Linked DNA regions of Homo sapiens: region 1 is linked to region 2. The links are contacts of gene promoters, found by promoter capture Hi-C in blood cells and fetal thymus (Javierre and others, 2016). All regions are on one chromosome and are shown on one strand. Each heading gives the region's core, a stretch centred on a gene start or on the middle of the fragment in contact. The rest is flanking DNA. Distances are from core to core; before and after follow the strand shown.

The links. The method cuts DNA at HindIII sites, captures the fragments that hold promoters and counts their contacts. A CHiCAGO score of 5 or more calls a contact.
Region 1: a contact is called between a fragment that was not itself captured here and the fragment with the promoter of SLFN5 in region 2, in 1 of 17 cell types (non-activated CD4 T cells). The highest score is 5.3, in non-activated CD4 T cells.

The regions. Positions count from the first base shown.
Region 1 is chr17:35,294,828-35,301,242 of GRCh38, reverse strand. No RefSeq gene overlaps it. Among named protein-coding and RNA genes, the nearest start is that of SLFN5, 55 kb to the right of the region's middle. The HindIII fragment of the contact is 410 bases long and covers 2,037-2,446 here.
Region 2 is chr17:35,237,817-35,244,321 of GRCh38, reverse strand. It overlaps SLFN5 (schlafen family member 5), which reads right to left and starts at 1,250. Exons shown (of 5, transcript NM_144975.4): 1 at 1,179-1,250. It overlaps LOC105371932, which reads left to right and starts at 171. Exons shown (of 4, transcript XM_047437262.1): 1 at 171-211; 2 at 1,103-1,400; 3 at 1,497-1,696; 4 at 2,352-4,279. The coding sequence starts at 171. The coding sequence ends at 2,799. RefSeq lists enhancers at 207-835, 809-918, 1,439-1,498. The HindIII fragment of the contact is 6,062 bases long and covers 1-2,595 here.

The DNA of each region.
Region 1 (6,415 bases), core at 992-3,491, 56 kb before region 2:
CTCAATGTCTGCCCAAATGGCTGCCTGGTTTTGTGCTTGAAATCCAGGGCCATGGTGGTGTAGGCACCCGAAGGAATTTCTTGGTCTGAAGGTTGCAAAGACCATGGGAATAGCATAGTATCTGGGCCAGAATGTACCATTCCTCATGGCCCAGTCCCTCATGGCTTCCCTTGGCTAGGGGTGGGAGTTCCCTGACCCCTTGTGCTTCCCAGAAGAGGCAACGCCCCATCCTGCTTTGGCTTACCCTCCATGGGCTGCACCCACTGTCCAACCAGTCCCAGTGAGATGAGCCATGTACCTCAGTTGGAAATGCAGAAATCACCTGACTTCTGCTCTGATCTCACTGGGAGCTGCAGACTAGAGCTGTTCCTATTCATCCATCTTGTCCATACTCTCCCTTTTATAAAATTTTTCATGACTTACACAGACAATCTCTGACATGCCTTGACTTTCTGACTTGTAAACATCCCTCTCCTTAAACAACCAGTTAATTTACTTTAGGACAAGAATTTACCATATAAGATTCTTTTTTATATAAATTTTCCTTTTCTTTTTTTTTTTTTGAGACAGAGTCTTGCTCTGTCACCCAGGCTGGAGTGCAGTGGCGCGATCTCAGCTCACTGCAATCTCTGCCTCCTGGGTTCATGCCATTCTCCTGCCTCAGCCTCCCGAGTAGCTGGGACTATGGGCACCTGCCACCACACCTGGCTAATTTTTTGTATTTTTAGTAGAGACGGGGTTTCACCATGTTAGCCAGGATGGTCTCAATCTCCTGACCTCGTGATCCACCTGCCTCGGCCTCCCAAAGTGCTGGGATTACAAGCGTGAGCCACTGTGCCTGGCCATAAATTCTTTTTTCTTTAATATCAAGATTAGAAGTTAGGGTATTTCACTAAATAGTTCAAGATGTAGCTATCTTTATTAAACCAATATTAATGTTTCATTGATTAAAAAATTACAGAAGCAAAGATTATTCTGTTTGGGCTGAGTTATAGTTTTGTGGCCTCTATGCAAAATTTTCACATCTTATAGTATTTGGCAGAGATAACTATGAAATTGCTTGATTAATAAATGCAAACAAAAATGTATGCTGGAAACTTTTAAGACATTTCTAATCTTACTGTACTAGTAAGTTTTAAAGATTAAAGTCACATGAACTGAAAGGTCCCACAGCTTTTACTTTTCTGTTAAAAATATTTGATTTAAGTGCTTATTTTTCTTAGGTCAATTAATTAGAGCTTTTTAAATAGGCATTGCACACATAACACATACATAGCCACACAGACAACCAGAAGAAGATCCAGTAATTAGAATTTTTTTTTTTTTTGCCCCTTTCCCAATTGGATCACTGGCCTTTGGGTGAGACCCTTTAAGAACAGGGCTATGAAAACAGTTTCCAGGGCCTAATAAACAAGCATAGCTGGAAGACAAAGACAGATTTTGAGAGGTACTTATTCATCTTTAATTCCAGGGGTTCCATAAGGAAAACAGATTTTTTCCCAAAACGGGATTTGTGGCAGCTTTTCTGTTTTCCCAAGGAGTCCCAGGCCACCAGAAGTCATTTTGGGATTTTTCATATATGCACCAAGAGTGGTAAGACAGAGTGGAGAAAAGTAATTCAGTTGACTGGGGAAAAAAACCTTTTCCAGGAAAACAAGATTTATGAAGAGAAAAACATAAAGGCCTTTTGAATATACTCATAGCTTGAATATTCATTTTAATTAAATTGAGAGCTGTTTTTCATCAGGGGTGAGGGTGGAGGTTAGAATTATATAAATATGCCATGTTAAATTAAAGGATTGGGTTATGTGCAGGAATTCCCTGCACTAGTCAGGGGGATTTTCAGAGAAAGATCCCAGGCACTGTTTGATCTGCGACAAATCAGATGTGGAGAAAGGGCATGAATGGGAGCAATGCCTTCAACCGCAGCCACTTCCTGGAGACGGAGAATGGCAGGGTGGTTTGACTGGTTGGAGCAGTTTTTGAATGGGTAACAGATGGAGAAGGAGAAGGAGCAGGGTTTGGAGCTGAAAGCTTGCGGGCAGGAGGCGTCACTGAAGTGGAGGATTCAGATAGGTTGAGGAGCAGATGCAGGGGGATAAGAATATGGAGGGGGTTCATCTGCAGGGTCAAAGGGGTTTTGGAGGAAGGAGTTTCAGAGAAAGGAGAGACCTGGGGAAGGTTATCATTAAGAAGAAAGACTTCATGAGGGGTGCAAGTTTGACACAGGGAGGGTTGGGATCTAAAGTAAAAGAAAGCCTGAATATAGGGAACCTCCTGCCATTTGCTGTTCCTAGTTATAAAGTTGTCAAGGTCCCTGAGAATTTGAAAGTCAAAGGTGCCATTTTCAGGCTACCAGCTGTCATTATCTAATTTGTATTGGGGCCAGGCCATGTTGCAATAAAAAAGCATACTCTTTGGCTTTATGCTTCCTTTAAGCCAAGCTTAGCAACATTGTGAAGGAGACAGCCCAATGGAGAGGACTTAGGAAAGTGGGATTGTTTGGCACCCATGTGGACTGGTAAGAGGAAGCTGAAGGTGTCTGTTTTTGTTCTAGGCATCCACAGATAAAAGACAGAAACCTGGAATCCTCTTTATAAAGAGGATGATCAAGCTGCGAAGAAACTGGGCATCTCCAAGATTTCTTCTAGCTTAGTCCCACTGGTCCTCTGAGGACCGGGACAGCTGACCTGACTCTCCCAGGTGCTGTGAGAAAGTCAGGAGAGGGCAGATCTTACTAGTCAGCTGGATTAGTGTCCGATGTTGGATGTTCTGATTGGAATTGGCAAAGGGCCCCTTGGACTAGAGCTTCACAAGGAAGAGAGGGAGAGAGAGACAGAGAGAGAGAGAGAGAGAGAGAGAGAGAGAGAAGAGGATGAGGGAGGAGGGAAGAGAGCAAAATACCCATTGTGGGCAGCCAGAGGTGGATTCCTAAGACCTGAGGGCTTTGAGGGTTCACTGGAGATTTGCCCCAGCCTGAGCCTCACAGTCCCCTTCAGGTTAGTTGTCCTCCTCAGACAAATTGCTAGAAAAGTGAAGTGAGAGACAAGACAAGATGGGTGGCCAGAGACTCTCAGGATCCAGCAGGATGAGCAGCTGCTGTCCACTGCTTTTTGGGTTGCAGGAGAACCTCTACCCCCAGCACCCATCCTGAGTTTTGGCAGCAAATGTAAGAGTTAAAGAAAGAGGAAAGAAACACGAAAAGTGACTCACCAGTCAAAGACAGGTTTATTTTGGAGAATAAACCTGAGAGGGGCTTCTGGCTGATTTTGGTCAGGAGCACACTCTCTTACAGATTAAGCGTATTTGTTGATTTTAGGGTGAGAGAGCTTATCATAGGCTTGGAATGTTTCTTTGTGGGGAAGAAGTTTATTGTGGGTTTGGAATGTCTCTGGTAGGAGGGGAGGTTGTCTTGGGGCTGACATCTCTCTGGGGAGGGGTTTATCTTATGGTTGAAATGTTTCTGGTCAGAGATGTCATTTATGGTTTATGGTCATGCTGGCCTTAGCCTTTAGGCTGATGCCCTGTGGATTTAGGTGGTTTTTGATTAAGGGGAACTTTAGAATGGTGGTGTTTGTCCAAGATGGTGATGCTCCTGTTCTGTCAAAGTCCCTAGGCTGCACACAGCACAGGGATCCTCTGTCCAGCCCAGGAAACTACTTTTTCCTCCTGGGCCTCCAGACCTGTGATGGGAGGGGCTGCTGTGAAGGTCTCTGACATGGCCTAAAGACATTTTCCCCATGGTCTTGGGGATTAACAGTAGGCTCCTCACTGCTTATGCAAATTTCTGCAGCTGGCTTGAATTTCTCCCCAGAAAATGGGGTTTTCTTTTCTATTGCATAGTCAGGTTGCAAACTTTCCAAACTTTTATGCTCTGCTTCTGTTATGAAATTGAATGCCTTTAACAAGTCACCTCTTGAATGCTTTGCTGCTTAGAAATTTCTTCCACCAGATACCCTAAATCATCTTTCTCAAGTTCAAAGTTTTACAAATTTCTAGGGCAGGGGCAAAATGCCACCAGCCTCTTTGCTAAAACATAACAAGATCCACCTTTACTCCAGTTCCCAACAAGCTCCTCATCTCCATCTGAGACCACCTCAGCCTAGACCTTATTGTCCATATCACTATCAGCATTTTGGTCAAAGCCATTCAACAAGTCTCTAGGAAGTTCCAAACTTTCCCACATTTTCCTGTCTTCCTCTGGGGCTTCCAAACTGTTCCAACTTCTGCCTGTTACCCAGCTCCAAAATCACTTTCACATTTTCTGGTATCTTTTCAGCAATACCCCTCTACTGGTAACAATTTACTATATTAGTCTGTTTTCATGCTGCTGATAAAGACATACCCAAGACTGGGAAGAAAAGGAGGTTTATTGGGACAGTTCCACATGGCTGGGGAAATCTCAGAATCATGGCGGGAAGTGAAGGCACTTCTTACATGGTGGTGGCAAGAGAAAATGAGCTAGAAGCAAATGAGGAAACCCCTGATAATCCCATCAGATCTCATGAGACTTATTCACTATCATGAGAATAGCATGGGAAAAGACGGCCTCCATCATTAAACTACCTCTCCCTGGGTCCCTCCCATAACATGTGGGAATTCCGGGAGATACAATTCAAGCTCAGATTTGGATGGGGACACAGCCAAACCATATCAATGACTGTACTAATTTACATTTCCTCCAACAGTGTACAAGAGTTTTCTTTTTTCCTCATCCTCTCCAACACTTGTTTTCATTCATCTTTTTTGTAATAGTCAATCTAACAGCATGAGGTGATATATTATTGTGGTTTTATTTACATTTCCCTGATCAGTAATATTGAGCATTTTTCCAAATATCTATTGGCCATTTGTGTGTATTTTGAAAAATGTGTATTCACATTGTTTGCCCAGTTTTTAATCAAGTTATTTGTTTCTTTCGATTGAGTCATTTGAATACCTTGTATATTTTGGATATTAGCCCATTTTATGCTGTATAATTTGCAAATATGTTCTCCCAATCCGTGGACTGTATCTTCACTCTGTTAATTATTTCCTTTGCTGTGCAGTAGTTTTTTTTGTTTGATGCAATACCATTTGTCTATTATTGTTTTCATTGCCTGTACTTTTGGGACCTAGCAAAGAAATCACTGCCCAGAACAAGCTCACGTTTTTTATGGTAAGAAGGAAAAGTCTATATTCTGAAAAGATGGCAGATGTTTTATTTAACCAGAAATTAACTGCCTTCAAGGACCCTTTTTTAGATTCTTTCTGAGGATCCTTGAAGGGAGTCCATTTCCTGGAAATTAACGCAGGAAATGGGAGTTTCAAGGATGGAGATTCTTTAGGCATGAGTATAGTCTAGAGGAAGATGTGACAAATCACATAATTGGGCTTCAAGCAGTGATGGCCCAGGAAGGCCTAACTGGACTCCTAAGGACTCAGCAGAACTGAAGGCATTTGAGAGCACTCACTCCTTCTGTCAGACTCTCTCCAAAGTTAAATCAAGGAGAAATATTGTTTTTTCCATTATGCTGATGCAGCCTGACCACTGTGAGGACTGTGGGACTTTACAAGGATGGTGTTAAAAGTAGAGGTAAACAGCAAGATTTCACAATCATGCAAAGGAAAGAAAAGGGCGCTATAAAAATATATTAACTAACCAGCCAAGGAAAGGGAAAGGGGAGAAAAACAAGAAAATTCAGTGTTGCAAAAGTGATAATTTGCAACTGACAATGTTTGCTCTGATTCTGTTTTTCTACCCTGCCCCTGCCTCTGCCTCTCTTGGCCTCTCCAAGACCTGACACAATGCCCGCCCCGCCCGTCCCATCCTTCATATCCACACTCAATCACAGTGTGAATGTCAAGACTGAGAAGAACCTGCCCTAGGGTTTCACATGGCAGCTTTTTGCTCACTGAGGCCTCCCTGACTTCCCAGTCTAATGTACCAACTCCTCTTACCAGACAGACAAACCAGACAGACACACATTCACAGATACCGAGAGCCTTTCTGTTGTACTGCCTTGCTTTACAACCCTATTATCCCTTTTCATGCTCTGCCATTCCGTGTACTCATGTTTGTTCACATATTCCAGAACTTTCCTGTCATGTCTGCCTCTGGACTCCCAGCACTTAGATCTACTAGTTTCATACACAGGCTGGGGTAGGAGCCTGTGTATGAAACTTCTTAGATGGAAAGCCTTCCAATCAGTTATCACCCTTTAGAATATACAGTTGTGTCTCACCCTGGAGGCTGGAAAGAGTTGAAGGTTCTGTGCAACAGTTGTTTCAGCTGCTCTTGGAGGGGTCAGAAATGTGACCTGCATCTTTGCCAACATATGTTATTTTTTGACTTTTTAGTAATAACCATTCGGACTCATGTAAGATGATATCTCATTGTGGTTTTCATTTGCATTTATCTGACAATTAGTGATGC
Region 2 (6,505 bases), core at 1-2,500:
GACAAAGGATCCCCTTCTGGTGCAACCGAGCCCCTCAAGATTTCAGCACCCCAACATTTTTAGTGATGAAACCATGAAAATTCCGATGAGGCCCTTGCTTATTTGCATATGTTAACTACCCACTTTTTGCCCAATATTCCTTTTTCTAGCAATATAATTATAAACTGCTGATGCACCGTTTCTTTGTCAAGCAGGAGGATATAGCTTCAGAGTCAAGAAAAAAATTTTGCAGAAGGAATGAATGCCTTTAAGGGCATTGTGACCAGCTGCTGACGCCCAGAAGTCTGGTGGTTCAAGATGTAATCTGAGACGAAGAAAGACTTTTCCCCGAGGTTCCCTGAAATTCCCCCTCCCTTACTTCCTGGTCTCATAAAAACTCCCCACTACTTCTTTTTGTTAGGGTGGATTTGAGAGATCTTGACCTCTTGCCTTCTCGCTTTGGCCAAATGGAATAAATCTTCCTCTGTCTCCAAGCATCTGTGTGTCAGTGTTTGGCATCAACAGCACATCAGGTTCCTGAGCCTGAATTTGGGCTTCGACAACTCGGGCTCCCGGGACACATGCAAGAGGGAAACGGAATCACACCGCAGTCTCAGCCACTGCGGATATGACCAACTAGGGCTCTAGTTAGTCACTGTATGGGGGATACAGGGCTTTGTGGGCTACCCTAGTAGCCTGCCCCTGTTGTTACAGTTTGAAGACTGACGTTCCAAGCCAGGGGCTTATAGGCAAGCCTCTGGAACAAAGCCTCTTGTAATAGACTGGACATTGGCCCTATTTGTCCCCAGGCCACAACCCATTTAACTTCATCCTCGGGAGCCCCGATTTCGTCGTTTTCCCTTAAGTCCTTCGTGCTCCTGAACCGTGGGGAAATGTTGCCAGGTTTGGTTTGCTAAGATGTAGGCTGCGCTGGGTCGGCGCCTCTCCCTCCTCCCCAGCTCGCCCCGCGTTCCGAACCTCCCAGCTCCCGGGTCCTCTGCCACTAGCTGTCGTTGGAGGTGCTCCTGAGTCAACAAACTAAATCTCCCCAGCGGGAAAGACTCTCTCCCGGCAGCGCCCAGACCTGGGGAGCTGCAGTCGCCGCACCTTGTCTTCACCACAGCCCAATAGGAGAACCCGCGCAGACCGGGGGGAGGTTTGGGGAAGGCCTGGGCAAAGAAGCGCGGGGGATTCATTACCCGCTGGGTTCTCCTCGGCAGCGCGTCTCCCTCCGGGAGCAGGCAACGGAGCCTCCCAAGTCCAGAGCAGAGAACCTGACCCGGCGGGATCCCGGGCTTATATCAGCTGAGTTCCGTGACACCTCCCGGGGCGGGACATCGCGCAGGAGACAGACAGAGGTACAGCCCAATCGCATCGTTACGTGGAGCCGGAAGCCCACTCTTGCAACTACAACAGTCTTGGTAAACCTTGGGTGGACTGGGGAGAACTGAGGAGGGGAAGCGCTTTTTTGTTGCTTCTCTGTGTTTTCTATTTTATTTTATTTATTTTATTTTTAGATTTTCAGTTCTTATTTCACCCAGGGAAGGAGACCTGGGTATCCACCCCATGTCCTCCAGAGAACTTCCCTGGCCCCGCTCGGAGTCTTCCTGGGACGCCACAGGCTCGGAGAGCGCTCCGCAGGTTTCTCCCCCGGCGCCTCCAAATCTTTCGATTCCTACTCGAATTACTCCGTCAGCTGCTGGAAGAGGGGCAAGGGGTATGGCGAGACGCGTTGGTACATGGGGCACTGGGGGGAAGGGAAAGCCTCCCTCCTTCTCCTAGTAATTCGAGAATGTTGCGTCCGCCTCCTTTCTTTTGCTGGCGCTAGGGGCTCGGACCAGCACCTGCCAGGCATAGGTGTGGCCACTGGGGCGAAACCTGGCAGGCTCTGGAAACAGCGTTTTACTGACAGGAAAGAGAAACTGTTCTTTGTATTCATCACCCACCGCAGACTTCCTCACGCCCGGGTCTTAGGCGGGGCTGTCAGATTTCAGTGTGTTTCTCTTAATTCTAGTACTAAATTTGTACTGGGCGCTGGCGAAGGGCCTGGCTCCGCCACGCGCGGCCCTCTCGAACTGCCCGTGGGTACGGCGCGCGCTGCTGCCCTGTGTGGCCTGTGCGGGGAACCCGAGGGCCGAAGTGGGCCCCGCCGCAGCACAGGGGGACAAGAGAACCAGGAGCGGGCTGCCTGGGGGCAGATTCGAACCCGTGCTCCCAGCGGATAGAAGTAGCACTTGGGGACTCCTAAAATATTCAGCCCAATCCTGATTCCAGCTGCCCTCTCTAGGCACCTTTCCTCTACCCTTCTTCCAGTTTACAATTCTGGTGAGTAGATGTTTCTCTATCTCTTCTCTTCCAACTCCTGCGCCCAGAGCCAGGAGGACTTCTGGAGCCCGCCCAGCAAGACCCTCTCTCTCCCATCTTCTGCTCAAGGGCTCGAGGTCTCAGTGGACAGAGCTGAAGAAAAGCCGTCTATGGAGCCTGCGCCAGGCGCAGACTGGGTCGTCGCAGTCTGGGTCGTCGCAGTCTGGGCCGGGGCGCTGGAAGTCTTACTCACTTCTCAAGAACCCGCAAGGGATCAGGCCTGACCCTTTGCAAGTGACAGAATCCAAAGCTTTGAGCTCATGGGAAAGTGGCTGGAAAGAAGGTCACTGTAGGGCCGCACAGGTCTCTGGCGAGGCTACCCAAGAACATTTAAATCCCTGCCCAGAGAAGAAGAGGCTCCAGCTGTCCTGCACCTTCCTGGGAACTGGCAGTCCCTCCGCGCAGGGGTTCTGCAGCGACCGGCAGCGCGAGGAGACAAGGATGGTGGCCAGTTAACAGAAAATCAAGGCAGCGGGAAAGGTCTGGAAAACACCACCTACTATCACCTCTGGAGCCTGGGATTATGGGATAAGTTTTCGATTTTTAAATGTATTGTCAAATAGCTAAAGTACACGGAAAGTGCGAAATAATAGTAAATTGAACACCTGTGTATTCACCACACAGCTTAAGCAATAACATTAGCAATATTTGGGTACCCAGCTGGTCTCATTCCCTCATTCCACTTGTCCCCTACTCACCTGATAGCCAGTACAATTTTATGAATTTAAAGTTACTAATTCCCATGCAACTGTTTATACTTTTAGTAAATGTGTTTATGTCCCTCATCAACACATGACACTGATTCAACACATGTATATGCGTTTAAGCTGCATGTAAATGGCATCATGTTGGCCAGGTGCAGTTACTCACGACTGTAATTCCAGCACTTTGGAAGGCTGAGAGGGAAGACGGCTTGAGGCCCAGAGTTTGAGACCAGCCTGGGCAACATAGCAAGACCCTATCTCTAAAAAAAAAAAATTGTTTGTTTGTTTGTTTGTTTGTTTGAGACGGAGTCTTGCTGTGTCACTCAGGCTGGAGTGCAGTGGCGCAATCTCGGCTTGCTGCAATGTCGGCCTCCGGGGTTCAAGCAATTCTCCTGCCTTGGCCTCCCAAGTAGCTGGGACTACAGGCACATCCCACCACGCCCAGCTGATTTTTGTATTTTTAGTAGAGACAAGGTTTCACCATATTGGCCATGCTGGTCTACGAACTCTTGACCTCATGATCTGCCTGCCTCGGCTTTCCAAAGTGCTGGAATTACAGGTGTGAGCCCCCGCGCCCAGCCAAAAAAATTGTTTTAAATTAGCTGGGTGTGGTGGTGCCTGCCTATGAAGTCCCAGCTACTCAGGAGGCTGAAGTGGGAAGATGGCTTGAGCCCAGGAGTTGAAGGATGCTATGAGCTCTGATTGTGCCACTGCACCCCTGCATGGGCAATAGAGTGAGACCCTGTCTCTTTAAAAAAAAAAAAAAAAGTATCATATTGTATGTGTTCTGTAGAACTTGCTCCCACACTTTAACATTTTGCTTTAAAGATTTGTTCATGTACTTAGATCATTCCTTTTCACTGCTTTATGAGCTGAATCATTTCTGCTCTTCTTTCCATCCATACCCATTGGTCTCCAAAGTATCCAGGCCTCCCCAAAAGTTCCTGCAGGAGACCTCAGTTCCACTGGCTTTCAGGTCATTATTGTTCCAGCACTACTTCTCCATTTCTGGTTCCAGCCCTTCTCTCCCACATTCTCAAGCTTCTAGAGGGTCATAAGAGAGGAAAAACGCCAAATGCCTTTGATAAAATGTTGCCTTTCCAGTGGTATGCATGTTTGTGTGGAGTGGGAGGGAAGTGAGGGCAGATGTGACTTACTCTCAGCATTAATTCAAGTTTAAAAGTAAAATCTTTAGGTTTGCCTTGTCCAGTAAAAAATGCCAAGAGCCATAACTGCTCATTCTCTCTCTCTCTCTCTCTTCTCTCTCTCTCCTCTCTCTCTCTCTCTCATACACACACTTGGTTAATGCAATATTTACGTTGTTTTTGCTTCAACAAACTAAAGAGGAGAAGAGAGTTGGTAGGTTAAAGGGGCAGGTTATTCTTTTTTTTTTTTTTTTTTTTGAGGCAGAATCTCGCTTTGTCACCCAGGCTGGAGAGCAGTGGCTCGATCTTGGCTCGCTGCAAGCTCTACCTCCCAGGTTCATGCCATTCTCCTGCCTCAGCCTCCTGAGTAGCTGGGACTACAGGTGCCCGCCACCACACCCAGCTATTTTTTTTTTTTTTGTATTTTTAGTAGAGACGGGGTTTCACTGTGTTAGCCAGGATGGTCTCAGTCTCCTGACCTCATGTTCCGCCCGCCTCGGCCTCCCAAAGTGCTGGGATTACAGGCGTGAGCCACTGTGCCCGGCCAAAGGGGCATGTTATCTTATTAAGGGCAGGCAGTCTCTCACAGAAAGAATCACTGTATTAGTGTAGGGAGAATCACTGCCTAGGTCAGCCGTGTGTCAATGACCTGTGTCACTGTCCTCAGTCTGCACAGTGAGACTGGAGGCTGCATGCCATGGTCTACAGATCCCTCACTACAGAAAATTTGCTTCAGCATTCTCCGTGAGAGTCACAGGGAGATTGATTATGGGGGTCAATGCTCAATGGCATCATGGCTGGCCAAGCTTTTTGCAGAAACTTTTACTAGGGGACTGAGGATTATAGCAGCAAGCATCTTAGCATAGAGCCTTATCTGTGTTTCCACAGACTATCTTTCAAACCCAAGCTACTTGTTTATAATATTCACTTTTCAGGCAAAAACATATTTTCCACTTTTTTTCTTTTCTTGATAAAAAGTTTAAAAAACAAAATTTGCATAAACACGTATATGATGTTTCTTAGGAACAATGTTTGCCATTTGACAAAGTGTGGTGAAATTTTGTCAGAACAAGTTTACTTGAAGGAGGGATGAGACATCCTTTATCAATGTTCATATGAATCACACACATCAGAGAGAGTGGGAGGGAGAATCTTGGTTCTCTGGCACTCCCAGTACCCACATTGAGATCCGAGAGTGTCCTGATGATTTTCCTGTCTCAGTAAGTAATTAAGCTTTTCCTGAAGGAGCTCAGTTAAGTCCAAGCTTAATTTCAGTCAAGTCCAATGTTTAAGTTGCTTTTTCAGCTACATGAAATGAAAGTGTGACTCAGAATTTTCTCTCTATATCCCCTCAGATCTTTAGCACACTGAGGGTAATTACAGAGTCTCAAAGCATATCCCCACAAGATGCTCTATTTATTACAAAGGAAAAAGACACTAATTTTCCAGAGAATCCTGGAATATATCACCTCAACCAAGTGATCAAAGTTAACATCATTAGTAACAGGACAAATTAAATTGCATGCCACTAAAAGAACAATTTTTATTTCTTATGTATTCCTGACCCAATAAAACAAAACAAAACAGCACAATAGAAAGTAACTATAAGGAAACATTAGAGGGTTCAATGGTGCCCACCTGTAGTCCAAGCTACTTGGGAGTTTGAGGCAGGAGGATTGCTTGAGGCCAGGAGTTCAAGACCAGCCTGGGCAATATAGCAAGACCCTGTCTCAAAGTAAAAAGAAAAGAAAACGTTAAACCCAAACCCAAATGGAAAGACTGTTCTAGATTGAAGAACATTAAAAAGACAAGACAAAGTCACCATGTAATCCTAGGCTGTAGCTCGGACTAGAAAAAAAATTCTTTTTGCTGTAAAGGACACTCTGGCAATTGTGAGAATGCACTTCAAAGACCTCAACTTGGAGCTTAATTCACAAAGCACCCCAGCTGCCTCACTTTGAAATCCATTGCACATTTGTGTGAAGGCCATGCTTCCATGGGCTGCTCCCAGCTGATGACTGAGTATGGCAAGGACAGCAGGGCAGGCCTTCTCCTAGGAGACAAAGGATGCCTCTAATGGCCAACTTTTGCTTGACTTTGAGTAAATATCTGGCATACTTCCACCCAATCTTTTTCCCCTCTCCTCCACACAGGATCAGACTTGCATCATTGTCTGACAGCTCTCTCATCTTTCATTGACTCCCAACTCTCAGCAACATGGAAATGCCCAAATTCCCCTGACATATGGTAGAGGAAGAAATAAAGAGTTTGAGGGAAATGAGCATGAAGGAATGGATATATTAGGTAAGACCA